Regions from separate parts of the Homo sapiens genome. Here region 2 is linked to region 1. Evidence: promoter capture Hi-C in 16 types of primary human blood cells and fetal thymus (Javierre and others, 2016). All regions are on one chromosome and are shown on one strand. Each heading gives the region's core, a stretch centred on a gene start or on the middle of the fragment in contact. The rest is flanking DNA. Distances are from core to core; before and after follow the strand shown.

The links. The method cuts DNA at HindIII sites, captures the fragments that hold promoters and counts their contacts. A CHiCAGO score of 5 or more calls a contact.
Region 2: a contact is called between a fragment that was not itself captured here and the fragment with the promoter of RSBN1 in region 1, in 1 of 17 cell types (total CD8 T cells). The highest score is 5.4, in total CD8 T cells.

What each region holds. Positions count from the first base shown.
Region 1 is chr1:113,809,048-113,816,930 of GRCh38, reverse strand. RSBN1 (round spermatid basic protein 1) reads left to right here and starts at 4,455. Exons shown (of 7, transcript NM_018364.5): 1 at 4,455-5,221. The coding sequence starts at 4,519. It overlaps AP4B1-AS1 (AP4B1 antisense RNA 1), which reads right to left and starts at 4,319. Exons shown (of 5, transcript NR_125965.1): 1 at 4,106-4,319; 2 at 2,440-2,544; 3 at 1,459-1,553. It overlaps PTPN22 (protein tyrosine phosphatase non-receptor type 22), which reads left to right. Exons shown (of 21, transcript NM_015967.8): 21 at 1,962-3,120. The coding sequence ends at 2,026. RefSeq lists enhancers at 4,055-4,584, 4,321-4,710, 4,585-5,114, 5,091-5,180, 5,331-5,390 and 1 more. The HindIII fragment of the contact is 4,966 bases long and covers 1,792-6,757 here.
Region 2 is chr1:114,746,846-114,754,728 of GRCh38, reverse strand. It overlaps CSDE1 (cold shock domain containing E1), which reads left to right. Exons shown (of 20, transcript NM_001007553.3): 2 at 4,522-4,908. Among named protein-coding and RNA genes, the nearest start is that of CSDE1, 7.2 kb to the left of the region's middle. The HindIII fragment of the contact is 3,487 bases long and covers 3,042-6,528 here.

The sequences.
Region 1 (7,883 bases), core at 3,206-5,705:
GTAATTTTTTCTTTTTTAAATTGAGATGGAGTCTTGCTCTGTCACCCAGGCTGGAGTGCAGTGGCACGATCTCAGCTCACTGTAACCTCAGCCTCCTGGGTTCAAGCGATTCTCCTGCCTCAGCCTCCCCTGTAGCTGGCATTACAGGCACCCGCCACCATGCCCAGCTAATTTTTGTATTTTTAGTAGAGACAGGGTTTCATCATGTTGGCCAGGCTGGTCTTGAACTCCTGACCTCAGGTGATCCACTCACCTCAGCCTCCCAAAGTACTGGGATTACAGGTGTGAGCCACCACGCCTGGCTTCTGGGTTGAAATTTAAGCAACATTTGAGTAGTTACCATAGGCTTGAATTCCTGGCCCCAAGCTATCCTCCATACTCACCTCCAAAAGTGCTCGGATTATAGGTTTGAGCCACCATGACTGGCCTGAGGAACATTTGAGTACTTACTATGTGCCAGGCATTGTGCTGGATGCTGTTTTTTTTTTTCAATTCTTTTTTTTTTTCCCCTCTGCAGCCTTGACCTCCCTGGGCTCAAATGATTTGCCCACCTCAGCCTCCTGAGTATCTGGGACCAGAGGTGCAAGCCACCATGCCCGGCTAATTTTTTTGTGTTTTTTTGTAGAGACAAGGTTTCACTATGTTGCCCAGGCTGGTCTTGAACTCCTCGGCTCAAGCGATCCACCTGCCTTGGCCTCCCAAAGTGTGGGATTATTCAAAGGCATGAGCCACTGCACCCTGCCCCATTCGCTTTTTACACAAATATCTCATTTGATCCTTACATCAGTTTTTTAAGGTAGATAATACAATTTGTATGATGATGAAATTAAAGGTTTAGGTATATCTTTGAGTTTTTCATTTTATTATTCCCCTATACTTCAAACATTTCATTTCTTACTTTAAGTCCCTAAAGTTGCTAAGTGTAAGATAACTTAAAAATACACTGCCATTAGGCCTGGCTCAGTGGCTCACACCTGTAATCCCCAGACTTTGGAAGGCCAAGGTGGGTGGATCACTTGAGGTCAGGAGTTTGAGACCAGCCTGGCCAACAGGGTGAAACCCCATCTCTACTAAAAATACAAAAATTACCCAGGCATGTTGGCTGGCGCCTGTAATCCCAGCTACTCAGGAGGCTGAGGCAGGAGAATCGCTTGAACCCGGGAGGCGGAGGTTGCAGTGGGCCGAGATCGCGCCACTGCACTCCAGCCTGGGCGACAGAGCAAGACTCTGTCTCAGACAAAAAACAAACAAACAAAAAGACACTACCATCAAAAAGAAAAGTCATAAAGTCACATGTTGCTGAAATGATAAAGAACCAACATCATCAACATGCACATCTTTTGAAAGCATCCAGAAATAGCCTTCATTAGTTGTGAAAAATTTTCTCATCCTCCTTCTTTGGGGTGGGGTAGGGGGAACAAGTTTGAAGAAGAAAGATAAATAATAATGTTTACTTACCTACTTAGTTTTTCAGGATTGTTTATTTTTTCTAAGATTTTCAAACATAATCTCTTGGTAAATTGAAGGATTTCTGGACCGACATAGAGGTATAACTAGATGTAATACAATAATGTTATAAGTAACGGTGCTATATTTTTGTGAAATTAAAATTTCCTGACTTCATTTAATGGGATGGAGTGGATGACAAAAAGTCATAGACAAATGATATTATATACTAAATTATCAAAGCCTATATATAACCAGGGTCCTACATTCTATTATTACCATTATTAAATTTGTAAGTGCTCTTCAAATTTAAAGTGTTATTAGTATTCTGTTATCATTTAAGCTTTAGATTACTACAATCCCTTTATAATCTATTACTAAACTGGTCAAGATGCTGCCTAACATTTAAAAAAAGACCATGTATTTGCATATATTATAATATACTCTAAAATCCAAGTATTCATTTCTATACTTAAAACATCTTTCTTTTCATTCAACTTTATTTTTGTTCCCAGGTTTTGCAAACCGTTTTTCAAAACCCAAAGGACCAAGGAATCCACCACCAACTTGGAATATTTAATAAAACTCCAGATTTATAATAATATGGGCTGCAAGTACACCTGCAAATAAAACTACTAGAATACTGCTAGTTAAAATAAGTGCTCTATATGCATAATATCAAATATGAAGATATGCTAATGTGTTAATAGCTTTTAAAAGAAAAGCAAAATGCCAATAAGTGCCAGTTTTGCATTTTCATATCATTTGCATTGAGTTGAAAACTGCAAATAAAAGTTTGTCACTTGAGCTTATGTACAGAATGCTATATGAGAAACACTTTTAGAATGGATTTATTTTTCATTTTTGCCAGTTATTTTTATTTTCTTTTACTTTTCTACATAAACATAAACTTCAAAAGGTTTGTAAGATTTGGATCTCAACTAATTTCTACATTGCCAGAATATACTATAAAAAGTTAAAAAAAAAACTTACTTTGTGGGTTGCAATACAAACTGCTCTTGACAATGACTATTCCCTGACAGTTATTTTTGCCTAAATGGAGTATACCTTGTAAATCTTCCCAAATGTTGTGGAAAACTGGAATATTAAGAAAATGAGAAATTATATTTATTAGAATAAAATGTGCAAATAATGACAATTATTTGAATGTAACAAGGAATTCAACTGAAATCCTGATAAGTTTTAACCAAAGTCATTAAATTACCAATTCTAGAAAAGTAATCAATGAAATATAATAGCTATCTTTTGGTAGCAAAAGATATAAATTGTATATGTTTATACAGGATCTTTCAGATCATGTGCAATTTTTATCTAACCAATCAGAAATACTAGTTTAAAATGAATTTCTATATGAATATGGATCTGCCATAAGAAAATCTAGTTCAACTCTAATTTTATGTAGTAAATAAATTGGCAGGTAATTGTTTTTACAAAGAATCCACCTGACTTCCCCTAATGCATTAAAAATATTTTTATTTAAATAACTTTATTTATAACTTTTAGAAACATGTAGTATTGTTTAAACATCATTTGTTCTTCAGTATTTTTCATTTGGAAGTCCAATAGGGCAAATTGAATGAAGTATTATTATCTGTCTCTTGTAGTACAATGTATCCAACAGACACTCAATAAACTTTTTGGTTGTTAAACTGACTTCATTGCAGTAGTGTTTAGGTAATACTTCTCCAGAAACTAGTGAAATCAAACCACAGTAATTTTATCTGCTGAGTATATATCATTGTAATCAATTACTTCCAAATGTCTTTATCAATAAACAAATATACTAAAAGAATTCTAGGTAACCATGAGTTACTTAGGGCACCATGAGTGCATCTGTAGACCCAGCTACTCATTCCTTGAGCCCAGGAGTTGGAGGCCAGCCTGGTCAACAGAGCGAGACCTTGTCTCTTTTTTTTAAGAGTCAGGGTCTAGATCTGTCACCCAGGCCAGAGTGCAGTGGTGCGACCACTCCTCCCACCTTAGCCTCACGAGTACCTGGGACTACAGGCGCGTGTCACGACACCCAGATAATTTAAAAAATACTTTTGTAGGGACAGAGGCTCACTATGTTACCAACGCTGATCTGGAACTCCTGGCCTCATGCAATCCTCCCGCCTCGGCCTCCCAAAGCTCTGGGATTACCGGCCTGAGACACCGAGCCCCGCCCCGCCCGTCTCTAAATAAATACTTAAAAGAACCCCAGGTAAAAGCTAAAGCGAGGATGAAATTCTAAATGAATTTCTGAGCAACAACTATCCGTAGTGAGCAGTGATGATTTTTGGTGTGTTCTCCGGTAGGCACACTTTTCAAATTTATGCAATCTTATCCTTAAGATTTGAAAAAAAAAAACTTATAAAAAATCTTAAACGTGGTTTTCCATCTACAATTTTTCGCAACTGTAGGGATATATTCAAAATAAATGCTGGACATTTCCAGGCATTAGAGGGGATGTGGCCGGATGGCGAGGAGGGGCCGTCCTCACCAGGACTCCAAGCAGTTCTCGCACCTGACTTCGTAGGCCTGTAGTTGTAACCATAGCAATGCCCCAGATGCTTGAAAACATTTCTGAATTGCGGCCCTATCATATTTTTACAGCAAAACCACCCTTATTTTACATATTACTAAATCCTCTTTTCACCTTCATTTCATCCCTCGTCAAAGTTAAAAGGATGAAGATTCTTTTATCTCACAAAGGTTATGAGAGAAATATTAAATTTAAAATCACTGTGGAGACCACCTCCTCCGTGTAAAATGAGGAAGGGTCACAGGAAGATGATAATGGGAACGCGCCGCCAGACTCTGAAAGCCATTAACATTGTTTCGGCCGTTAGGGCGGTTGGCGGCAACTCACCGCCCAGCGGCGGTTGCGTCGCAGCCAGAAGCGTGACTTCGCGCACGCTCCCTTTCCACTCCTCCACTCAGAGCCGGGGACGCGGCGGGGGCGCGGCGGAACTACAGCTCCCATGACGCTTTGCGCGGCATAGGGTGCTTTACAATAGAAGCTCGGTTGGAGAGGCCTGCGGAGAAAAGCTGGGAACGGCCGCTTCCGGCATGTTCATCTCTGGACGAAGAACGGCCGACAAGTGGAGGGCGGAGGAGAGACTCCAATGCCCAGCGGGCAGTGCGCGGGCGGCGCTTGCGCGATGCGCGGACGGGGGGGCGGTCGGGCCATTTAAATGTGTGTTTGTGGGTGAAATGGCTGCGCAGGTCGGAGCGGTGCGCGTAGTACGGGCGGTGGCGGCGCAGGAGGAGCCGGACAAAGAGGGGAAGGAGAAACCTCATGCTGGGGTCTCCCCGCGGGGAGTTAAACGGCAGCGCCGATCTAGCAGTGGGGGGTCTCAGGAGAAGCGGGGGCGGCCGAGCCAGGAGCCCCCTCTCGCTCCCCCTCACCGGCGGCGTCGCAGCCGCCAACATCCTGGGCCGCTGCCGCCAACGAATGCAGCCCCAACTGTCCCAGGCCCTGTTGAGCCTCTTCTCCTGCCGCCTCCGCCGCCACCTTCGCTGGCACCCGCCGGGCCCGCTGTCGCTGCCCCTCTCCCGGCCCCAAGCACCTCGGCCCTCTTCACCTTCTCGCCTCTGACGGTGAGCGCGGCCGGGCCCAAGCATAAGGGCCACAAGGAGCGGCACAAGCACCATCACCACCGCGGCCCCGATGGTGATCCCAGCTCCTGCGGAACCGATCTCAAGCACAAGGACAAGCAGGAAAACGGCGAGAGGACTGGAGGGGTGCCTCTGATCAAAGCCCCCAAGAGAGGTGAGAGCAGGCAAACTGCCCGGCTTGGGTTCTAGGTCTCTCTCAGTTCCGATATCCCGCATCTTTAGGACTGAAAGACGCCAAACCCCTGCTTACCTTCTGCTGCTGTACTTCTCTAAGCTCACTGGGGTGGACCCTGGATTTCAGATCGTTGACACGGTTTGATCTAACTACTTGAGGCTTCTCGCTCCGAGGCCGAGCTGTCAGTTGCTAATCCCTTTACCGGTCCCCCGGAGCCTCTCAGCATTTGTTTTCAAATTCTGCAAGGTTTCCGCGCCGCGTTAGATTAGTAGGTGGGGTACTAAAAAATGCCTTTCCAAAGAAAAGGCATGTTCCTAAAATCCCTTCTCCTTGTTTTGCTTGCTGGAGAGCTTTAGTTATCTGCTCTCCCTTGCTCCAGAATAGTCAGGGGTATGGTTCCAGTCTTTCAGGAGGGAATTCATATAAAGGTTACACGACTCACTGGTTGACTTAGCTTCTGCAAGGTAAAATATCAGACGCAGTTTATCTTGGTTCTTTTTAATCTAGAGGTAAAAATCATTTTAAAGTTTTCATATTAGCTATTTAAATTCTTAGAATAGGCATGTGGAAGGTTTTCTCTACCCTTTGATACTAGGAAATAGGACCAACAGTGCCTCTGAAAAGTGGGAATTTGTGCAGTAGATAGTAGAGGCCGGAATTTCAGTTGCATTTGATTCTGTCTAGCACACTTTGTGGATCTGTTAATTCCAATAGCCCTCAAGAATATTTTACTAGAAAATGTCAGAGTATCCAATTAAATGTGGATTCTAGAAAAATTAGATTGGCCAGAACTGATGTCTTCCTGTTCCCAAGTACCTGTAGCATTTATTTATATTCTTTGTGGAAGAAATGTGATGCTTTTGATTATGCCGTATGTTTGTACTTTATATATTATTTTATATAATTTACTAGTTGTTTTTCCTCAGGAATATTTGAAATACTTGTTTCTTAGTACTGGACCAGTTAGGTTATTACATGTTAATGAGACAATCTTTCAACCTAAAGTTTTGTGAGTCTTGCATTCTTTCCACGTATTGAGTCTTAAGGCTAATCATTTTTTTTGGTGGTGCTATTTCCGAATACTGTAGTTCGTTGCAAATAATTGCTCAATAAGTATTTATTGAATAGCATTAAATTTTTATTCATTTGGTGGCATCCAAATCTTGGGAGTAGAACTTGTGGCAAGATGACAGGACTGCCAGTTTTCACCACCAATATGCAATGATCTTGCTCTCTTTTTATTTTTACTTTTATTCCCTACTTTCTCATTTCTTGTGTGTGTGTGTGTGTGTGTGTGTGTGTGTTTTAACTGTACAGAACTAGAGGGAATTAGTGATCCTCTGGCTTAAATTTGTATTGTAGAAAAGGAAACTGAGGCCCAAAGTAGTAAAGAGGCCTGTTCAATCAAATCACAGTTAATTCGCATGAAGTGCAAAAAAATTAAATATTTTTTAAAAAGGTGAATATTGGCATAACAGGCAGTAGAACCCAGGCTCCTGAATCCTGCTTCAAGCTTCATCTCCAGGCTTCATGATGTTGCTTTCTCTTCCTGCTATTCATTTTTTCCACTCCTTTGTTTACCTTTTCCCTGTGCTTTGACATTACAGTGGCTTTATATCATCGAGGATCTCTGACCTGGCCCCGTTTTATGGGGGATAGTGGCAATAACATGTGTAATAATTTACAATCTTTCTCTGAAGATTGCACAGGCCCCATGTTCTTTAAAAAACACACTTCTGACCTAATGCTGACTGATAGAACTTTCTCAGATGATGGAAATTTTCTGTATTTGTGCTGACCAATATGGTAGCCGTATGTGGTTCCTGAACAGACTTGAAATGTGGCATGATTGAGGAACTGAAATTTTGATTTTATTTAATTCTAATTAATTTATAATTAGTCACATATGGCTAGTGGCTACCACACTGGACAACACCACTCTAAATATCTGTAGTTTGCCAACATGTGAAGAAGAGAAGTGGGTTAAGATAAGCCCATTTAAACATTTTAACTTTTGGCTGAGAGATTGTTGGATTATATACCCAAACTATATTTTGGGTGAAAAAGAATTTTTTGGTCAAATACATTTGAGAAAAACTGTGTACTGTAGCCTTCTACATATGTAACATGAATTGGCAAACTGGCATTTTAAAAGTTTTGAAAACCCTACAGAAAATAAACTGGTTTAACTTTGTTTAATCCAGGCTTTTGCACATAGTTTGACTGATATCTTTTTTGTCCTCTGAACATCTTTATTGTTACAGTGGTATGCAGGAGGCATGCCTCTGGTATTAATCTGAGTTTAAATCATGGCTCTAACACTTACTGTGTGAGCCTGAACAAATTGCTTTACCCTCTCTCAACTGCACTTTTCCTGTCTATAAAATGGGGTTGTGGTATTTCATTTATAAGGAACTTGTGTGGATTAAATAGGGCATTGTGTGAAAGTACTTACAGCAGTGCCTGGCTCATTGTAGGCACTTACTTAAAACCGGCCTTTATTATTTTATTATGCATGGTCCCTAAAACAACTCTAAGATTAATAAGGAGAGTGGGCAGATTCTTGTTACTTACAAAGCTATGTCCTTCCTTCGCTTATCCTCAGATTTTTGGAAACTATTTTAACTGTTTTTTTTTTTTA
Region 2 (7,883 bases), core at 3,536-6,035, 940 kb before region 1:
TGACTTAGGTTGGTTAATTATCTAGAGTTTATCGTTTACCTTAGATCCTAAAGTAAAAATGAATTAAGACCTATTAAGCACTTCAGTTATAAAATGTGGTGCTCAATGAAATGTCAGGCAATAGAGAAACTTTTCAGTCCTATGCTACCTATTTGGGTCTTTGTTTTTTCCTGCCTAAAAGAAGATACTGCCTAAAGGAAGTGGGTTAGGTGAGCAGACTTTTGTAGACTGGCTTAGCCTTTCATTAACTTTTCCCGAAGTGAGTGCTGCACATACTTTCAAAATAATAAACTAGGTAGTGTGATACATTTTAGATGGATTACTTACCACATAAATGTGTTAGTTTAACCTCTTCATTTAGTGCCGACTATGTCATGGCTTATGCTAGGCCTTTGAGGTAAAACAGCCGAGGAAGACATGAAATAAAACAGGTGGTGGCCAGGTGCAGTGGCTCACGCCTGTAATCCCAGCACTTTGGGGGGCTGAGGCAGGTGGGTCACTTGAGGTCAGGAGTTCGAGACCAGCCTGACCAACATGGTGAAACCCCATCTGTGCTAAAAATACAAAAATTAGCCAGCCAGGCCTGGTGGTACACGCCTGTAGTCCCAGCTACTGGGGAGGCTGAGGCAGGAGAATCGCTTGAACCCGGGAGGTGGAGATTGCAGTGATTAAGTAATAATACTATTTCCATGCTGAGCAAAGGGAAAAGGAGTTGATTACTTAGCACACAGTATGATTCTCAGATACACATTTAAATTGTTCCCTAGTGTTTTTATTGGTACCCTATGGTGGGTTTGTGGGGGCGATTGTTTTGAGTCAGCGTCTTACTCTGTCGCCCAGGCAAGAGTGCAGTGGCACAGTCATAGCTCACTGCAGCCTCAAACTCCTGGATTCAAGTGATCCTCCTGCCTCAGCTTCCCGAGTAGCTGGGACTACAGGTGCATGCCACCACACCCAGTGAATTTATTTTTTATTTCTAAAATTTTTTGTAGAGACAGCATCTCACCATGTTGCCCAGGCTGGTCTCAGACAATCCTCCCACCTTGGCCTGCCACAGTGCTGGGGATTACAAGCGAGAGCCACCACCCCAGCCCAATACCCAGTGTTTCATGCAACTTAAGTTTCAAGCTTTTAGGGGGATGGAGGAGATGCACTTGTGTTCCTAGGGTTAAGGCAAAAGAGGTGGTTAGTAGCACCAATTAATGTTAATCCGGGCATGAGTGGATAGCTATTTATATTAAACTGCCTGACCAATACCTTTAAGTTCTTCAGTAAGTGTTAATTTAATTGAAAAACATTTAGTTAACTATAGAAGCTGTGAAGATGTTAATTCGGCCAGTAAATTATTCATGACTGTTGGTGGGTTCGTTTGAGCTTTAATAGCTCCTAATAGACCTCATTAGTGCCTAAGAATGGCCCTGCAGTACTCCAGAGTTTCAGTTCCAGAAATCTCTTTTTTTGTGTTACTGAATCTTGGACTTGACAGTTCTTAATGTGATACGACAACCTGGAATGGGTTAATCCAGTTCAAGTGTTTCAAGATAACTTGTTTTCTCCATGTTGAGTTCTTTGGGTTCATTAATACACCTAAAGCATTAAGATAAAACCAATATACACAGTCTGTATTTTTTAAAGAAGAGATTATTTCTTGATTGGATAATTAAAACTATATAATTAAAGGTGGTATAACTGTTTACACTTGAATTGTGGCATAACTGTTTACACTTGAATTGTGGCGTCCTTTTGCTTATTAAGGATTAACTACCTTTTTCCTTTGGTTGTATATGGCAGCACTGGATTAGGTGCGAAAGGAGGCTGTGATAAAGAAATTTGAGTTTACCTCTCAGAAATTTGAAATAGAATTGGAGGAACAAGATACATAAAAACATGAAGTAAACAAAGTACAGAAATTGCTTGGTATCACTTGCTGCAAATTGCTTGGTGCAGGCAGTGGATGTTACTGCCCCATTCATTAGTAGGAATTAATGAATGAGTCTGCTGGAATGGTCAAGAAAGGCTTTTTTGTCACCTTGAAGATCACAACATAGTATTTTTTTGTGGGAAGACCCATATAAGCAAAGGTGGCTAGAATTCAGGAATCTCCCAAGAGTTGTGTTTAAGGATTAGGCGAGGTAATGGACTTCTGGTAGAACTGGAACACAGTAGAGAGTAAGGATGGAAGGTAGAATAGAGACACCTGGAATAGTAGTTCTTAATCCTGGCTGGAAGTCAGAAACACTTGGAGCAGGGGTTGGGGGGAGATAACAAGGCCTGGCACCTAACCTAGTGTAGTTAAATTTAGAATCTTTGTACGGGACTCAGGCTTTGATTTTGTTGGTTTTTGTTTGTTTGTTTGTTTAAGGTTGCTGGGGGTGGGTGGATAGCCAGGATTAAAAACTTCCCATCTAGAATGGTGGAAAAATAACTGAAGATGTTTGACAGGGGAGATGAGAAATGAAATTGGAGAGTTTTTGTTTTGTTTTGTTTTTTGAGACAAGGTTCTGATCTGTCTCCCAGGCTGTAGTGCTGTGTCACTATCTTGTTCTCTGCAGCCTTGACTTCCCAGTCCTAAGTAGCTGAGGCTCCAGGCGTATACCACCATGCCTGGCTAATTTTTTGTATTTTTAGTAGAGATGGGGTTTCTCCACGTTGCCCAGGCTGGTCTGGAGCTCCTGGGCTCAAGCAGACCTCCTGCCAAGGCCTCCCAAAGTGCTGGGATTACAGGCGTGAGCCAACTCACCTGGCCAAAATTCAAGTTTTTGATAGTCTGGTGGTGGTATGTGACAGAAAATGGAAAGTGTGCACACTGGAAGTTGGCGGATATATTAGACACCTGAGCTAAAATATGTCACTTAGTAGGATAAGAGATGAATACAAAAGATATAGCGAGGGAAATACTAACACAACTTGCAACATTGGGTATGGTGATGGAGAGGGGAAGAATCAAGATAGTTAAAGAAGTGGCCCTACCTCAAACCAGTTGTATTACTCTGAGTGGAGGCTGGGCATAGGTTTGTTTTTGTTTTTTTTTTTTTAAAGCTTCCCAAGTATTTGAGCACCATTACCCTGAGACATATATCTAGTCTGGGTAATAGGAGAATGATCTAAATAAAGTTGAAAGATCAGACAAGTGTATGTAACATTTGATATTTGAAGGAACATGGGATGTTAGAGAATAGAAAATGGCCAGATCAGCTGTTATTGAGTTTTTATTTTACATGTGAGGAAAGTGAAACTTAGAGAGATTAAATAACTTGTTCATGGTATTTACTAGTACCAGTGATTGCGATTAGGCTCTTCTGGTCTGAGCTATTTAATCAGCTCTGACCTCTCACCTGATAATCATTCTTCTGATGTTTTCAAATATCCATTTCTCAGCACGTACACCTTTTTCTTATCTCTGTAGAAATAATTTTCGTTAACACCATTTTGTAACTTTGGAGTCAGTGCAAAATTGTTGTTTATTTTATAGCTAATATAAAGCAGAAATGTGATTTTTACTGATAAATAAATTTTATTTCTCTTCTATAGACATTTCTCATCTATTTACTGCAGCAGTGCAAATGAGATTTCTGTTTGCTTACTAAGTCATCTCCTTTAGGATTTCAAGACTTAATACCACTTTCATCAAAAACTAAGGCACTGTTTCCTGTTACATCACGTTGAAATGCTTCATAATCGGGCTCCGCTACACCTGTCACACTACATATCCTATTTCACTTCAGCCCAGCTCTCTGTTCTAGCCAGGCTAGCCTGTTGATTTTCCTCTGAAACAACAAGCCACACATGTTGCCACAGGCATTCATGCAGAAGACTTCACTTGATGCTGGGCTTAGAAAATCATAGAATGCATGGTCGCTGCTCTGAAGAAAGAATTTAGTGGCATATTCTCGCTTGACTTATGTGCTGTTTCATGCCTAGAATACTCAGCTATTTTCTTTCTCCTAGAATTCTGCCTGATTTTCCAGGTTCACTTCAAATTCCACTTATTTAAAAGCCTTGGTTGCTTTGATGGACATGCAGTTGTGGATAAACAATAAATAATATTTCTAGATAGTCTGTGACATAATAGATACCTAGATACTAATTGAGCAAAATAATTTTTGGCATTTTTGTCCTATACTCTGTTTTTTTTTTCCATGTTTACATCTTGTCTTTTCAGCAAGATTGTCTATGCTCTCATGGCAGGGACTTCTTTTATGTTTTCCACAGAGCTAGATCCTTATAAAATACTTGCACTAAATTAAACATTATGCCATGTAACTGAGCTTATTTGGGGGAAGAGGTCAATAAAGACTATGGAATAATTTGAGGTCTTGGGTATGAGATACCAAAGGAGGTAGTTGCTAGTACTTGAGAGATTGCTCCAAATAACATCAGATGAGCATGCTTCCAAGTTTCCTGCATTACTTGCATGACCCATGATTCTAAGTTAATGAAATGAGTTTGTCCCTCTTCTCACCCACTGTCCCTGATTATTTTATGTATGTTATACTTAATGTCTTCATTTTTTACCTTTAGTATGAAGTGTAACAGAACAGACTTTACCACCTGAAACTGCTGCTTCAAGTTCAGATCAGGCAAGGAACAAACCTCGTAACAACTAACAAGACCAAAGAAGAGTACACTTAAGTTGAAGACACAACACTTGATCTGAAACAAGAAGTTTGTGCCTACTCAACAGCTTTGAAAGAGCACTTCCCAACGCTGCTAGTAGTCTTTGTTTTCTTCAGTGCTGTACTGTGAGATTGCCCGGTACAGCAGCAGTTGTATTCTTTATTAGCTTGGTAGATCATTTTCTCTCGCTCTTTTTTTTAATACTAGCAACTTTCATCCTTTGAAACGTGTGCTGAAAAAGAAGAATCAGCAAATACTACTGAAAGTGCAATATTTGAGTATCACTGCGAGGTAGGTTTGTAATTTCCTATTAAGAATCAGTTCCATAATTCTAGATTTCCTGATTATTTGGTCAAATATAAAATCTTTATTTGTTCTTTTCTAAAGGTATTCAGAAGACAGTTTTTCTATTCTCAACTAGTATGAAATATCAACACTATCTCTTGTTAGATAAGGACAGTATTTATGGTCAAACATTTTTCATACCAGATTATATTAATACATGCTGATCTCTCGACTTGCTGGTCTCTTAGAGAAGCTCCGTCTGTACTATTTAGAAGTTAGGATTTCAAATAAGAATGTGCATTGCAGTCTTTCTATGAGGGTCTGTGAAACTTTGGTGATATTTGCTACTGACGTCTGTTTCTTTCTCTCTACTGTCTTCAATGTTAGCTTCTTGAGGAAAGAACCTTACTTTATATCCATGCCTACATTTGCAGTGCATATTTGTGAACGGTATACAGTGCACATTTGTAAATGGTTGACATGCCTACTGTATTGTTAGGCATTGCTAGTGCTGAAATATAACGAATGAATAAGATACTAATGGACTTAATGATTTAGAACAATTTGTTACACAATATCACAATATAGGCTAAAAGATACTAATAAAATATTAAGAATATAACTGAAGCTGTTCCCTTGGAGGTAAGGAGGAGGGTAAAGAAAGCCTACAGAAAAGGGATATTTGAAGGTGAGTAGTACCTTGTTAAGAGGTAGAAGAGACATTGGTAGAGGTATAGAGGTAACAGAATTAGCAGATTCAGGGCTACGTGAAAGCACATGGTATATATTAAGTTGTTCATTATGAACAGAGTAGAGAATATAATTTTGCGGGAGAGTTATGAAAGGGAAGTTTGCTGGAGGCTTGGCCCAATGCATTTGTCTTTATTCCGTAGGAGAGCCATCAGATGTCTATAAGCAAGGGCTTAAGGGTTTTTCCCCCAAAAGTAAGATAGCTTTATTGCTTCACATTTTAAAGTAATATTCAGAAGTGTACCTTTAAAAGACAAATGGTGACACTTTTGAGGGAAAGGCTGAGGATGGGAAGACCTGTCAAAAGCAGTGGATCAAGTATAAGGAAGATAAAAGCTAAGGTGTAGGTAGAGAAAAAGGTAGGTGCTAGGTGTTCTGATGATTTAGAAGTGAGGACTTGGGGACCAATTGAATCTGAAGATAAATGTGGAGAGAATGGCTTTATCAAATCCAGTTGTGCAAACTAGAAACCTTCATTGTTCATAGGAATAGGGAAGTTAGAGTAGTAACTTACTGATATTAAAATATGTTATGGAAATCTATTGTGTTCATTAGATAGCAATCTGAAGTTGAAGGAAATACACTAGTATGGAATATTGAACAGTGGTTAACTTTGAGGGTAGGCTTATGAAGAGCAATTTTCCTTTTTAATCTTTAGTTTCCAGATTTTCTAAAGTTAGACATAAAGGAATTCAGAAAGGAGTCATCAGTGTATAGGTAATAAAAGGAAGAAGCACCAATGAAGAGAGCAAAGACATAGAAGTCAGGAAAAAGCACCAACGATAATTTCAGGAAGTCAATGGTAAACATTTTTTTAGATGCTACAGAGGTCAAATAAAATGAAGAATGAAAATAAGTCATTCAGTTACAAAAGCTTCACTGCTATTTCAAGAAGCGCTTAGGACTTTATTTCCAATTTATTGAAGGATTATGTAATAGTGTCAGTGACCTTGCTGTGCACTAGAATTATTCCTTAACAACTAAAAACTATAGTAAAATTATCTATGTCTCATAAACAGACACTGTTATTTAATTTTAAGGTAATTGTAGCATTTAGTTTTTCTATTTGTTTCTTCTTACCTTAGCTGATTTTTAAAAAATAATTTTAGACTAATTGTTGTGGATTCTGTTGGATTAGATAGGGAAGATTAACACAAATTGAAACCACAATTTTATGTTCTGAAGCATAAAAGATTAGATTTTTTTTTTTTTCCTCTCTGAGACAGAGTCTTGCTCTGTCGCCAAGGCTGGAGTGCAGTGGGGTGATCTTGGCTCACTGCAGCCTCTGCCTCCCAGGTTCAGGTGATTCTTCTGCCTCAGTCTCCTGAGTAGCTGAAATTACAGGCGCGCATCACCATGCCTGGCTTATTTTTGTATTTTTAGTAGAGACGGGGTTTCACCGTGTTGGCCAGTCTGGTTTTGAATTCCTGACCTTGTGATCCACCCGCCTCGGCCTCCCAAAGTGCTGGGATTACAGGCATGAGCCACCGTGCCTGGCAAGATTAGATATTAAGGCTTTCATTTCATTGACATGATTTATAGAAATAGATTTAACGAAGTCCTTTTTGTTTAGTGTAATCTTTGTATTCTGAATATTAGTTTACTACATGAACATTTTAATATATAAATGCATCCATAGCTGTCTAAAAATTACATGTTTACATATGTACAAAGAAACCACAATTGGGATGAAGATTATTGGCAGTAAAACATGGCTGTGGTTGTACAGTTGTGAAATAGTTCAGTTAAAGGGGGCACACAGCTAAGAAAACAGATTTGGTAATGCAATGGAACCCCCAGATTTTAAAGGGGGGTTTTGTAAAATCAGTAAAAATAGTACGTAATTAGGAACAAATATATATAGAAGGGTAGAATTAGCCATAAAATGGCAAGAAAGAATAAGGCTTATAAAGCATTTGTTTGAGATGTGAAAATAGACCTGAATTGTTTGGTGAATGATTTGATCCAGGTTAGTCTAAAGGTGACAGACAAGAGAAAAGCAAAACTAGAAAATTCCTGTCGCGCTCCTAGTTTTTTCTGCTGAATGCAATAATTTTCATACTTGAAACATAGCAAAGCAAGAGAAAACTGAGGCCCCAGATGAGTGAGAAAATAACAGGATTACTTGGCGGTTGCTAGGGTGCTAGTTGCTAGGTGTGTGATAGTAGTCAAATAGAGACCTATGACAGGAACTGTAAATGTCCTGATTTTTCAGTCAGATGTGGGAACTA